Linked DNA regions of Homo sapiens: region 1 is linked to region 2. The links are contacts of gene promoters, found by promoter capture Hi-C in human tissues and cell types (Jung and others, 2019). All regions are on one chromosome and are shown on one strand. The core of a region is centred on a gene start or on the middle of the fragment in contact, and the rest is flanking DNA. Distances in the headings are between cores, read along the strand shown.

The links. Contacts are between HindIII fragments. The study calls those that stand out against the background at their distance.
Region 1: a contact is called between the fragment with the promoter of KCTD5 here and the fragment with the promoter of CASKIN1 in region 2, in 1 of the 25 tissues and cell types used here (lymphoblastoid cells).

The regions. Positions count from the first base shown.
Region 1 is chr16:2,678,858-2,684,647 of GRCh38, forward strand. It overlaps KCTD5 (potassium channel tetramerization domain containing 5), which reads left to right and starts at 3,666. Exons shown (of 6, transcript NM_018992.4): 1 at 3,666-3,943. The coding sequence starts at 3,692. RefSeq lists a silencer at 3,749-3,928 and enhancers at 4,024-4,634, 4,179-4,228, 4,299-4,348. The HindIII fragment of the contact is 14,940 bases long and covers 1-5,790 here.
Region 2 is chr16:2,193,201-2,198,944 of GRCh38, forward strand. It overlaps CASKIN1 (CASK interacting protein 1), which reads right to left and starts at 3,405. Exons shown (of 20, transcript NM_020764.4): 1 at 3,139-3,405. The coding sequence starts at 3,232. The HindIII fragment of the contact is 36,898 bases long and covers 1-5,744 here.

The sequences.
Region 1 (5,790 bases), core at 2,416-4,915, 490 kb after region 2:
TGAGGGATTCCTTTCTCCCCTCTTTGTGTGGCCCCAGCCAGGGCGGTGGGCAGTCCTGGTGTAGAGCACAAGCCTCTCCACCCTAGAGAAATGCCTCTGTACCACGGCTACCATGTGGAACCTTAACTTGCAGAAGGCTTGTTAACAATTGTTTTGAGAGAGATGGCTGGTCATGCCACAGCTGCTGGGGACTCCGCCTACTCCAGCCCTCTTGGGACACACTGTGGGATTTGTGGCCCTTCCCCAGAGGAATTGTGGAGACTGTCCCATGGAACAAACCCTCAGGCACCAGCACAGGGCTCTGGGTGACTCAGTAAAACTAACGTTTGTCTCTGACAAGATCAGCTGTAGGCTCACCGGCCAGAGAAGACCACTGTGAGCATTTTGCCGTATATCCTGCCCTGCCATTTGTTCACTTTTTAAACTAAAATAGGAACATCCGACACACACCGTTTGCATCGTCTTCTCCCTTGATATTTTAAGCATTTTCCCATGTCATGAGTTTCTCAGAAACATGTTTTTAACAATTGTACTATTTAGTCATTGTCCATTTACTATAATTTATCTGACCATTTCCCTACTGTAAAATACTTGACGGTTTCTGATTTTTCCACTATTTAAATAATGCTGTGATGAATATCTTTAAAATCTTCTGATTTCTTACTTTTTTTCCCCTTAGATGCCTGGAAGTGGTATTTTGAGGTGAAAGAGTTTGTTCATTTTGAAGATATTTCTGTCTCTCTCTCGACCTGATGTGTAGACGCTCAGTTCCAGTAGCAGAACCACCTTAGTTGTGTCTTACAGATTCTGAACAAATCGGTTTCTGATAAGCCGTGTGTTCCAAAGAATGTCTGAATAAGACCGCTCTTTATTTAAATGCTAAGAGGATGTCACTACTGCAATCCATTTGTGGCCGATTTTTTCCAAGAGCCAATTTCCTTGTTTTGGTTGCAAGAACCTGGCTCTGCCTGCATGTCAGCTCTCTGCCCTCCCTGCTGCCGTGGCTTTCAAGCGCTTGGCGATATTTTCAGAATCTTGTACTTCATGTCCACAATGGTATTGAATTTGCAACTGCGCAGTCAGCAGAGATAACAAGTGTTGAACTGACCTTGCCACATGCTTAGTGAGTGATCTGTAATTAAGTTTATAGACTCAGAAAGTACATTAGGCCATTTGGAGTCAGTAGCAGAGCAAAGCCTCTACTTGAAAAAAACCACGTAGCTGATTGGGTTTTACAAGAGTGCATTTGTCTCCCCCTTCCACCCCCCCACCTTCAGGTCTTAGTGGTTCACAAGAGCCCAGCAGCCAGGCTGGCTTTTTCATTGTAGGGCGTGGTTGTCCCAGCTGGTGTAGATTTCAGGCCGCCTCCCCCCATCTCCCTGCCCACAGTGTTGCAGATTGCCTGGCTGGCAGCAAGTCCAGACCACCCAAATTTGGTTGGATTCTTCATTTCTCCACTGTAGTTGGGGTCCATTGATTGTGCAGGGGAACGTGCAGGAGGTTTTTCTAGGCACTGCGTTCAGTGCTGCTTCACTCTACCAGAGATTATGGCCAAATTGCACGGAATTTGGTTTCTTGCCCTCTGAAGCCTGAGGGCCCCCCCTTGCCTGGCTGGTTGACAGACCCGGGGTGCTCACTGCTGAGACTTCAGAGATCGCAGCTGCTGTGAGAATACGGTGAAGGTACTATGTTCTGGAAGATGTTGTCATACACTTTTCCCCAGTTATTTTCAAACTTGACATGAGCCTATGTTGACTCACTGGGTGGGGTCCCTTCTTACGCAGCACACGTGGCAAGTGCCTGAATCGGGGCTGGAGGCACTTCAGAGCCTCTGAGGGGCCACCACTTCTGGCCCAAAATTGCAGGGTTGTAGATGAGGCTGCCTGTGGAGAACTGGTGTGAGGAGGAAGCTGTTTCCAACAAAGAGCACTTTCATCTGTTGAGATGGCTGTGGTGAGCAACTGAACGAGCCTACGTGTGTACCTGAATTTTCCCCATAACTCATTTCTTCCATATGAAGAAACACCAAACTATGTACAGAGAACTTTTTACAAAAGGCAGACCTTTTTTAAGCTGTGTAACCCACATAGCCTAACCGTCTGGCAGAATGACTACGAATAGGGGTCATTGTGCTGGTAAAAGCCTCTATTACGACTGTTAAGTTGGATGTTGGCAAAATTAAATTGTTACAGTATTTAGAGCTGCTGTAGCTGTTCCTTCACAACATGAAATAGGATAAATGACTAGTACGTCTTTCAGGTGGGTGGCAGTCAGAACATGCGTAATATTCTCTACCTGGTCTGTAGCTGTAACTGTGATGTACAGACAAAGCAAAAATTAAAAGAACTCATGAAAACAAATAATACAATGGTATTAGGATATACACTTTTGTGTTTTTAATCTTATAGAAGGTTATTTGCTGGCTATTGTTGGCCTCTAGTTCAGCCTGTTATTTAAATTCTTTTTTTTTCTTGAGACGGAGTCTCACTCTGTCGCCCAGGCTAGAGTGCAGTGGCCTGATCTCGGCTAACTGCAACCTCCGCCTCCTGGGTTTAAGCAATTCTCTGCCTCAGCCTCCGAGTAGCTGGGATTACGAGCGCCCACAACCACATCTGGCTAATTTTTTGTATTTTTGGTAGAGACGGAGATTCACCATCTTGGCCAGGCTGATGTTGAACTCCTGACCTCGTGATCCACCCACCTTGGCCTCCCAAAGTGTTGGGATTACAGACATGAGCCACCGCGCCCGGCCTAAATTCTAATATATGAATTATTTGTATTGAATTCATGTTCGGGGCCACGTTGTTATATGTATTGATATACAGCCTTGAATGTGAATAATTACTATATATTTTACAACTTTTTTCTGGCTTTATTACAAAAACTTTCTTTTTTTTTTTTTGAGACAGACTCTCGCCCTATCACCAGGCTGGAGTGCAGTGGCGAGATCTCAGCTCACTGCAACCTCTGCCTCCCGGGTTCACGCCATTCTCCTGCCGCAGCCTCCCGAGTAGCTTGGATTACCGGCGCCCACCACCGCGCCAGGCTAATTTTTGTATTTTCAGTGGAGACCGGGCCTCACCATGTTGGCCAGCGTGGTCTCGATCTCCTGACCGCCTGATCCTCCCGCCTCGGCCTCCCAAAGTGCTGGGATTACAGGCGTGAGCCACCAGGCCCCGCCCTTATTATATAAATTTTCTATTGGGTCAATGATTTAATCATATAATTTAATGAATCTGTTCTTTTTTTCCCCCCAAATATTTGTGCTTTAGGTGTAGTTACCAGATGATGAATTTTCCTCCTATGCTCCGTAGTCTTGTAATAAAAAGCATGTACAGTGTAGACGTTTGCTGGCATGGCTCTTCCTTTGACCAGTTCATGAACTGGAGTCAGGGTGGGGGTGAAGGCTAGGGTCGAGGTCTGGGTCAGGCGCTCGTGCACCGCTCGTGGGAGGTCGAGGCTGATGTCCGCTGCTCCCCATCAGCGTTAGTGCCCAGATCACCCCGTGCTCCGCTCCCGCCGGAAGCGGGCCCAGCCTCCTGCTTTTCGGGACCGGAACTTCCGCCTACCGCGTGACGCCGGGGCGGGCGCTCTACCAGGGCGGACCTGTGGGCGGGACAGAACTCAGAGGACGCTATTAAAAGCCGGACGCTTCCGGTGGAAGGGAGCTGTTGCGGGGCTTGCTGGGATCATGGCGGAGAATCACTGCGAGCTCCTGTCGCCGGCCCGGGGCGGCATCGGGGCGGGGCTGGGGGGCGGCCTGTGCCGCCGCTGCAGCGCTGGGCTCGGCGCCCTGGCCCAGCGCCCTGGCAGCGTGTCCAAGTGGGTCCGACTCAACGTCGGCGGCACCTACTTCCTCACCACTCGGCAGACCCTGTGCCGGGACCCGAAATCCTTCCTGTACCGCTTATGCCAGGCCGATCCCGACCTGGACTCAGACAAGGTGAGGGCCTCACGGGCCAGCCCGGAGGGTCCTGGCCTTCCCGGCCTGCGGCTCCTGCACACGCCCTGCTTCGTGCGGAGGAGACTTCAGCGGGAGCGGGCGACTCTCCTCGGGCTTCGAGCCCCGCGCTCCCTTGTCGCCAGCTCCTCCCCAGCTTGCCCCGATCCCCTACCCTGGGAGGGGAGGGTGAGGATGGCGCCCTGGCGTCCACTGCCTTTGAGGATCCTGAGTCGATTCACCTTGGGGGTGTCTCTTCCTCGCCCTCTTTGCTCTTTGGTGGAGGAGGCTTCCTAGACCCCGGACTTTGCTGTGATTCTACTTTCTTTTTCTCACTAGGTTCTTTTGCCCAGGGTGTGTGAACGCCTTCTCTTCTCTGTCCCAGGGTACTTGCTGGCTCTGGAAACAGAACCCTTGGCGTTGTTTCACATTCTGGACGTTTGAATTAACGCTGACGTGGGGGTTGATATGGGCGGCCCTTTTTTTCCCTGGTGACTTGCATTTAGAGAGTTGGCGCTCCATCCTTTCCATCCACAGCACGCAGCACCCACTCAGCACCTCTTAGAAGATGCGTCCGTAGTATATAGTATGATTTTTCGAAGGGGATTTTGCTCATATTAAGGGTTGCTTTAGGGATGTCCAGGAAGGGTCAGGTAAGGAATCTTTCAATCTGCTTTCTAATTGGCTTAGTTTTCCCACTGTCTTCGCAAAAGGACAGGAATTTCCAGGTTAGTTTGCAGCTTGTCTTTCATCAAGCGAAATGCTCATGCTGTTGGGTAGATGGTAATAGAAACCTTTTGCTACCTTTATTTATCAAGAGTTGTGGAGCCGAGGAACCGTGTCTTGGGAGTTGTGCAGGATTGAAACTCACAAAAAAGCCTGTTTGAAGAAGTTGTTACCTATATTTATTCAAGGCAGTTCACAAGCCTTATACTAACTTTGCGGGGTCTTTCAGTTGAGCTTACATGACTGCGCTTGGCTTTGTGCCTTGGCAGCCAACATTTGCCATGCAGGAGGCTTCCCAGAAAGGTTCGGATCCCTCTTCAAGTTTGAGAAGCCTGACTGAGACCATTCTCAGCATGGCATGACCGTGATCAGGAAGTGAGAATCTGGAGTTACTGCTAAGGCAGCCTTGTGGGTGGAAATGAGGGTTTGAGATGCCAACCCTCCTGTGCCTCCCCACAACTTCCAACTGTTTCCATTGCTCATTTGACCAAGCCCTCTACTCAGAGAATTGACCTCCCAGGAAATGACAGTCATCCCCAGGATAGAAATAGGCGTTTGTTAGCTGTGATTTTCCTTTTATAAGTGTGGGTGTATGTTTTACTGTTTGGTTTTTCTTTTTAAATAACAGGGCTTAGTGGTCACTCCCTTGCCTTTCTACTCAAGCATTCCTGTTTTGTATATGAAATTAGAGTTTAAATTGCTCTTGTCCATTGGGTTCTTTGAGGCAATGGTTGTCTATTCAGCACTGGAGCACTTGATTCCCAGTTGATGAACTTTAGCACAGTTAAGGTGGTTGATCCCTTTGCTTTACTGTTCCTTAAGACTTTGTTAAAAATTATGGGCCAGGCGCGGTGGCTCATGCCTGTAATCCCAACACTTTGGGAGGCCCAGGCAGGTGGATCTCGTTCAAAACCAACCGGGCCAATATGGTGATGCCCGGTCTCTACTAAAAATACAAAAAGGTGGGCGCGGTGGCTCACGTCTGTAATCCCAGCACTTTGGGAGGCCGAGGCAGGCGGATCACGAGGTCAGGAGATCGAGACCATCCTGGCTAACATGATGAAACTCTGTCTCTACTAAAAATACAAAAAATGAGCCAGGCGCGGTGGCGAGCACCTGTAGTC
Region 2 (5,744 bases), core at 2,155-4,654:
GAGACGGGGTTTCTCCATGTTGGTCAGGCTGGTCTCGAACTCCCGACCTCAGGTGATCCGCCTGCCTCAGCCTCCCAAAGTGCTGGGATGACAGGCATGAGCCACCATGCCCGGCCTGAAATTCTTATTTTTGAGCAAGGGGCCCTGCGTTTACATTTTGCATGGGGACCTGGGAATTATGTCGTGGGGCCTACCACCATCCCTTGCCATTAGCTAAAGGGAGCGCAGGTGTCACTGTCCCGTGCATCCCCGCCAGGACCACACTCAGGAGGTTCTCCCCACAGAACGCTGACCCCCACTCTTCCCAGCTCCAGGGTGGACAGCCCTCAGCATGTCCCCAGGACTGTCCAAGCCAGGCCCTGTCCTCCCTCCCACAGCTGAGGCAGCCAGTGTGGAAACCACCTTCTCACCCAGCCACACCTTCAGGGGCTGAAATCTCGGAGAGGCTGGAGGTCAAAGCCCAGAAAGTAACATCTGCCAGTGGGGGAGGGTGTCTCCCTCAGGAAGGGGACCACCCCCATGTGAGGAGGGGTGCCTTACTAAAGCCATCTCGTCCCTCTCCCCACTTATGGTCTCCTCAAGGGGGAAACTGGCTGAAATTGGATGGCAGCAACTTGAGGTCTTGGGACACACTAACCCCCATTCCTGTGGGGGGACAGTGGGTACCCAGGAAGGTCCCAGAACTGAGAAGGGCCTGGGGCTGGGGGCTGTTTTCACCTGGAAACGGGTTCTCTGGATGAAGCAGGAGCAGAGCATGGCTGGAGGGGGCCGGGGCCAGGATGAAAGTCCAGGAGCCCCCCTCCCTCTCCACGAGGTCCCTAAGCCCTGTGACTCTATGACAGTAAAGGCCTTACCCCCGACCAGCCCTCTCACTGCTATCCTGAGCCTGTCCCCACCTCTGGGGTCCAGTCCATATCCCAGGCTAGAAGGGAGCTACTAGTGGGCTATTAGAAGGTGAGAGGGGGATGGGGAGCTGGCCCTCGGTGCTCAGGGGTGTCCTCCACGGCATTCTTGGGCCTGCCTCCATGGACAGGGGGCCTCCATGGATAGGGTCCGGGTCAGAGGGAAGAGTGGGTCCCTCCTGGCCAGCAGGAGGCCAGCCCCTGCACCGGCATCTCCCCCAGAACAGGCTCCTCTTCCCCTCAAGGACAGCTGCTAAGTGTGTGCGTGCGGGCACGGGAGGCTCCCTTCAGGGCAGGGCGAGTCGGGGGCTGGCTGAGCCTGGGGTGACTCTGGAGCAGGGGCTGGAGGGAAGGGACTGGGCAACCAGAGGGGACCATGGAAGCAAAGCTCATGGGGACAGCCCTGGGCTCACGGGGCCCTGGAGGATACTGCTGGACACCCCCCACCTCGTGGCCCAAACTCAGCTGTACTTTACTGAATCAAAATACATCTTACTCCAAAGCAGGCCAGCGTTGCCATGACGACGGAGCTAATTCATGGAGGGATTTCTCCTCTGATTTATTACACCCGCCCCTGTGAGTCAGAGAGCAGGAGCCGGGGCCAGGGCAGGTGTCTCTCCTGTCCCAGAGGCCAGGCAAGACAGGCAGAGACCCAGGTGAGAGTGGAAGCCCCCACACCTCCCCAGAATGGCCACAATAGAAGGGAGGAGGAACCTCCCCAGAGCTGAAGCCCCCACTTCCCCAGCCCCTGGCCCTGGGCCGTCCAAGACTGCGGTCATTGCTGGCATTTACTGAGCACTTACTGAATGCCTGGGCTGCAAGTGCCCAGGCTCACTGGTCTTAGGACCCCACCGTGAGGCTGACATCCCATCCTACAGACGAGGAGACTGAGGTCCACTGAGCTGGAGTTGTCTGTGTCCAAGGTCATGCGGCCACTAGGTGGAAACCTTTACCTTGCCTTCCCTCAATCCCTACACCTGCTCTCCAGGCTCAGCTGAGGCTGCCTCTGCCCACAAGCTCTCCCTTTCTGAGCCCCCGGACCTGAAATCAGCTCGGGGCCAGCCTGCAAGGCACCGGTGCCCCCTCTCTCTTACTGCACAGAGTGGACAGGAGCTAGCCAGTCATGGGCTGCTGGTGAAGTACGGGGGAGGGGGTCCTCCTGGGACTCCTAGGTGCCCCCAACAATCTCCCAGAAGCCAGTCCCAGTTCTCGGCATCCCCCTGGAGGAAGGGGAGGGGGACTCTCTGGCTTACAGTCTGTGGGGGTGGAGGGAGGAGGGAGGACGCCCAGACCCCACGTGCCGACCTGCAGAGCCCTGTCCGTGCCCGCACAGGTGCCCTGACACACTGACACGGCTATACGTGCGCAGCCGCACACGCGGCTGGTCCACACGCCCATCCATCCATCTCCGGCGGCCCCCAGGGAGGCTACGCGCTGAGCCAGGATGAGTGCTGGGACCAGGGCTCCAAGCTCCCAGCCCTTTCCTGGGGCCGGCCATAGGGCAAGCTGGGGATGGCCAGTGGTGGTCCCCCACTCCCTCATGGCCTCCTTTCCCAGCAGGGAAGCTGGAGACCCGGCTCTGCTGGAGCCTGCCTGAGCAGGGCCCCAAGCCCTTGCGCCCAGGCCGGCCCTGCCTGGAGTCCAGCCTGCCCTGGGCTGGGCGACCTTGGGCCTCTGCTCTCCCATCAGTAAATGGCACCCCACCGGCCATGCCAGGGCAGCCACACCCCCAGCGTGGTCCTGCCCCCACCTTCCCTGCAAAGCGTGTTATTAAACGTGGGGCGGGAGGGGGTCTGCTAGGGACTGTCACCTCCCGGGTCGCCCCTCGCCGCAGGGGCCCCCTCCCTGTCTTCCCGGTGCGTGTGGTGGGTGGGGGGGGCATCCGCCTCGCCCTTTGAAGGCCCCAGCAGAGACCTCCAGCTGTCAGCCCGCAGCCTGGGAAGGGAGGGGGACAGAGGTAGAGAGAGAGGGATGCGAACGCCCGCGGCCCGGGAGGCGGGTGCCGCCAGGTGCCCGCTGCGGGGCTCACGGTGGCGGCCGGCTCTCGGGGCCGCCCCATCTCCAGTGCTGGGGGCAGCGGGTGGAGGGCACGGACCAAGGGTCTGGGCGCTGCTGGCCCCGCCCCGCCCCCGGGGACCCGACAACGTCCCCTCCCCGCCCGGCGCCGGGTGGGGGGCTCCGCGCCGGGGAGGGGCCCCCGGGGCTCCCACCCGCGCCCCGCGCCCCCGGCACTCACTGGCCTTCCCGGGCCGCGGCCTCTGCAGCAGCCTCTGCGCGGTCCCTACGTCCTCCGCCTTCACCGCCTGCACCAGCTCCTGCTCCTTCCCCATGGCGCGGCCGGGGCCGCAGCGACGCGGCTGCGCTCGTGAGCTCGGCGCGGCTCAGAGGCGGCGGCGGCCCCGCGGCACCGGCCGCCTCCCCCGCCGCCTCCCCCGCCGCCTCCTCGCCGCCCGCCGCCCCTTCGCCCTCCTCGGGCTCCGGCTTGGGCTCGGGCTCCCGGCGCGGAGGGGGCGGGGAGCGCGTCACGGGCGGGGGGCGGCCCGGGGGCGGGGGCGCGCGGCGGGCGCGGGGCGGGGGCGCGGCACCTGGCGCCGCCTCCCGGACGCCGGGGTCCGCTCCCGGGCCGCCGACCTCCGTCAGCCCGCGCCGGCCGCGCGCCCGGGCCCGTGGCTCCGCCCTCCCCGCGCCCGCCCCGGGACGCCCCCTCCCCACGTGCGCGCAGCGCGCTCAGGCCAGGCCTCTGCGGACGCGGGCGGCCTGGGGCTGCTAGCCGGGCTGGGGACGCGGCCGCCGGGGGTGCACTGGGAGCCCCGACGCGGCGGCGGCGCGGGGCTGAGCCCAGAGAGGCTTCCAGAGGCTGCGGGACCCGCGGGGGACGGTTCCGAGGCAGCGGGCGGGCGGGGACCGGGCGCCGAGAGACCCGGGCGCCAGTGCCCCTGGAGCCGGCCCGCCAGGCTGTCAGGCGTTCCTGGCCCAGGGTTCCCGTGGGAGGTGTCGAGGGATTGTGAAGAGGAATCTCCCAATAATGAATTCGGTGTCAGGGAACCCGCACCCCCAACCCCCAAGCATCCTCCTGCTCCTCTCCGCAAATAATGCGGGCGCCACAGCTTCCCCCAGCCTCAGTCCGAAGCCTGACCCCAAGGTAGCCCCCACCACCCCCACTGAGGGAGCTCAACTCCCCACTCCCCGCACCGACTGGGGGTCGCCTCCATCTCCATCCACAGGGGCTGGAACCTCCCGCCGGCACCAACCGACCCCCGGCCCACGTCTGCCCACTCTCCAGCCTGCAGCCCAGGCAGGCGAGTCCTGCTTCCTGGGTGCTGGAGGCCCCGACTTGTGACCCTCTGAGCTCCTGGCTGAAGGCTTGGGCCACCCTGCGCCTCAGGCCCTCTCCCGTCAGGCCTGCAGCATTCTAGAGGCAGATCAGTGGGGGTCTGAGTCCCGACTCAGGCTCCGTTTCCCTCATCACCCAAGCGGGCAAGGCCGTTTGGAGAATTTGGGGAGGGTCGCACCCATTCTATGAGGCATGGCCTGGCACCCCACTCTGTGTGGCCCCAGACCATTGAGCAGGTCCAGGGGGACAGAGGAGGTCAGACAGCAGGGACAGGGAAGGTGACAGGCACCGGGGTCCCGGCATCCTGTGGGCAGCTGGCCGTTCCCGTTCCCTCCGTGGGGTCTCCTGTTAGGTTCAGGTAGCAGCCCTTGGTCTTCCAGCACTCCTGGGAGGGGTCCCCAAATGCTAGGGCCTTTCCTCTTGCCCTTTCCAATGACCAGTTGAGTACCCGCTGGGTCAGGCACTGTGCTGGTCACCTCCTAGATGAGGTTGGACTCACTGTCCCCATTTTACAGATGAAGAAACTGAGGCTCAGAGAAGCCAAGGGGCTCACCTGGGGTCCCAGAGTCTTGAGGTTGTAAGTCTGGGCTTTGCACCCGCACCTCTGGATGTGTCCTATTCCCCCTCTTAGTGGTTTGTGACCATGAGCTGGTCACTTTGTCATTCTTTTTTCTGAGACAGGGTCTCGCTCTGTCGTCCAGGCTGGGGTGCAGTGACGCCATCATAGCTCACTGCAGCCTCAACATCCCAGGCTCAAGCAGTCCTCCCGCCTCAGCCTCCTGAGTAGCGCCCGGCTAATTTTTTTTGATTTTTAATAGAGATGAGGTCTCAGTATGTTACCTAGACTGGTCTCGAACTCCTGGCCTCAAGCAGTCCTCCCACCTCAACCTCCCAAAGTGCTGGGATTGCAGACGTGAGCTACCACACCCAGCCCACTGCCTAAGTGTCTGTGCCCCTCTGTAAAATGAGGATATGCATGCTACCTCCCCTTAGGTTACTGGAGGATAAATTGTGATACTATCCACAAAGCATTTCACGGCAGGACTTAGTAAGTGCTCAAAAAAATGGCTGCTGTAGATATTGTGATATTCTTGGGCCTCTCTGCCTGTGCAGCAACTGTGTTTTGTGCATCTTTGTATCTACGCTACCTTGCAGTGTGAAGAGCACATAGGAAGAACTAAAAATAAAAATAAGATAGCTGCTGGCATTACTATTACTTTTATGTTTTGGACATGTTAAGGCAAACCACCCTGACCTGTGCTTAACACACAAACAGAAGCCCACACACCAAATGTTCAAATATTTAAACGCTACAAATCACGCCAGTCACCTGTTAAGTATGTTCTATTCTCCTACCTTGACAAATATACCTTCATCATGGCCTGAAAGCCCAAGTTCGAATTGAGAATTCTCAGATTCCTCGGGTGATGAACTGGCCCCCGTTTGTAGCTACCTCACCTGTTCTCTGCTCAGCTCCAGCACTGTCCACACCCCATAAACAGGCACCC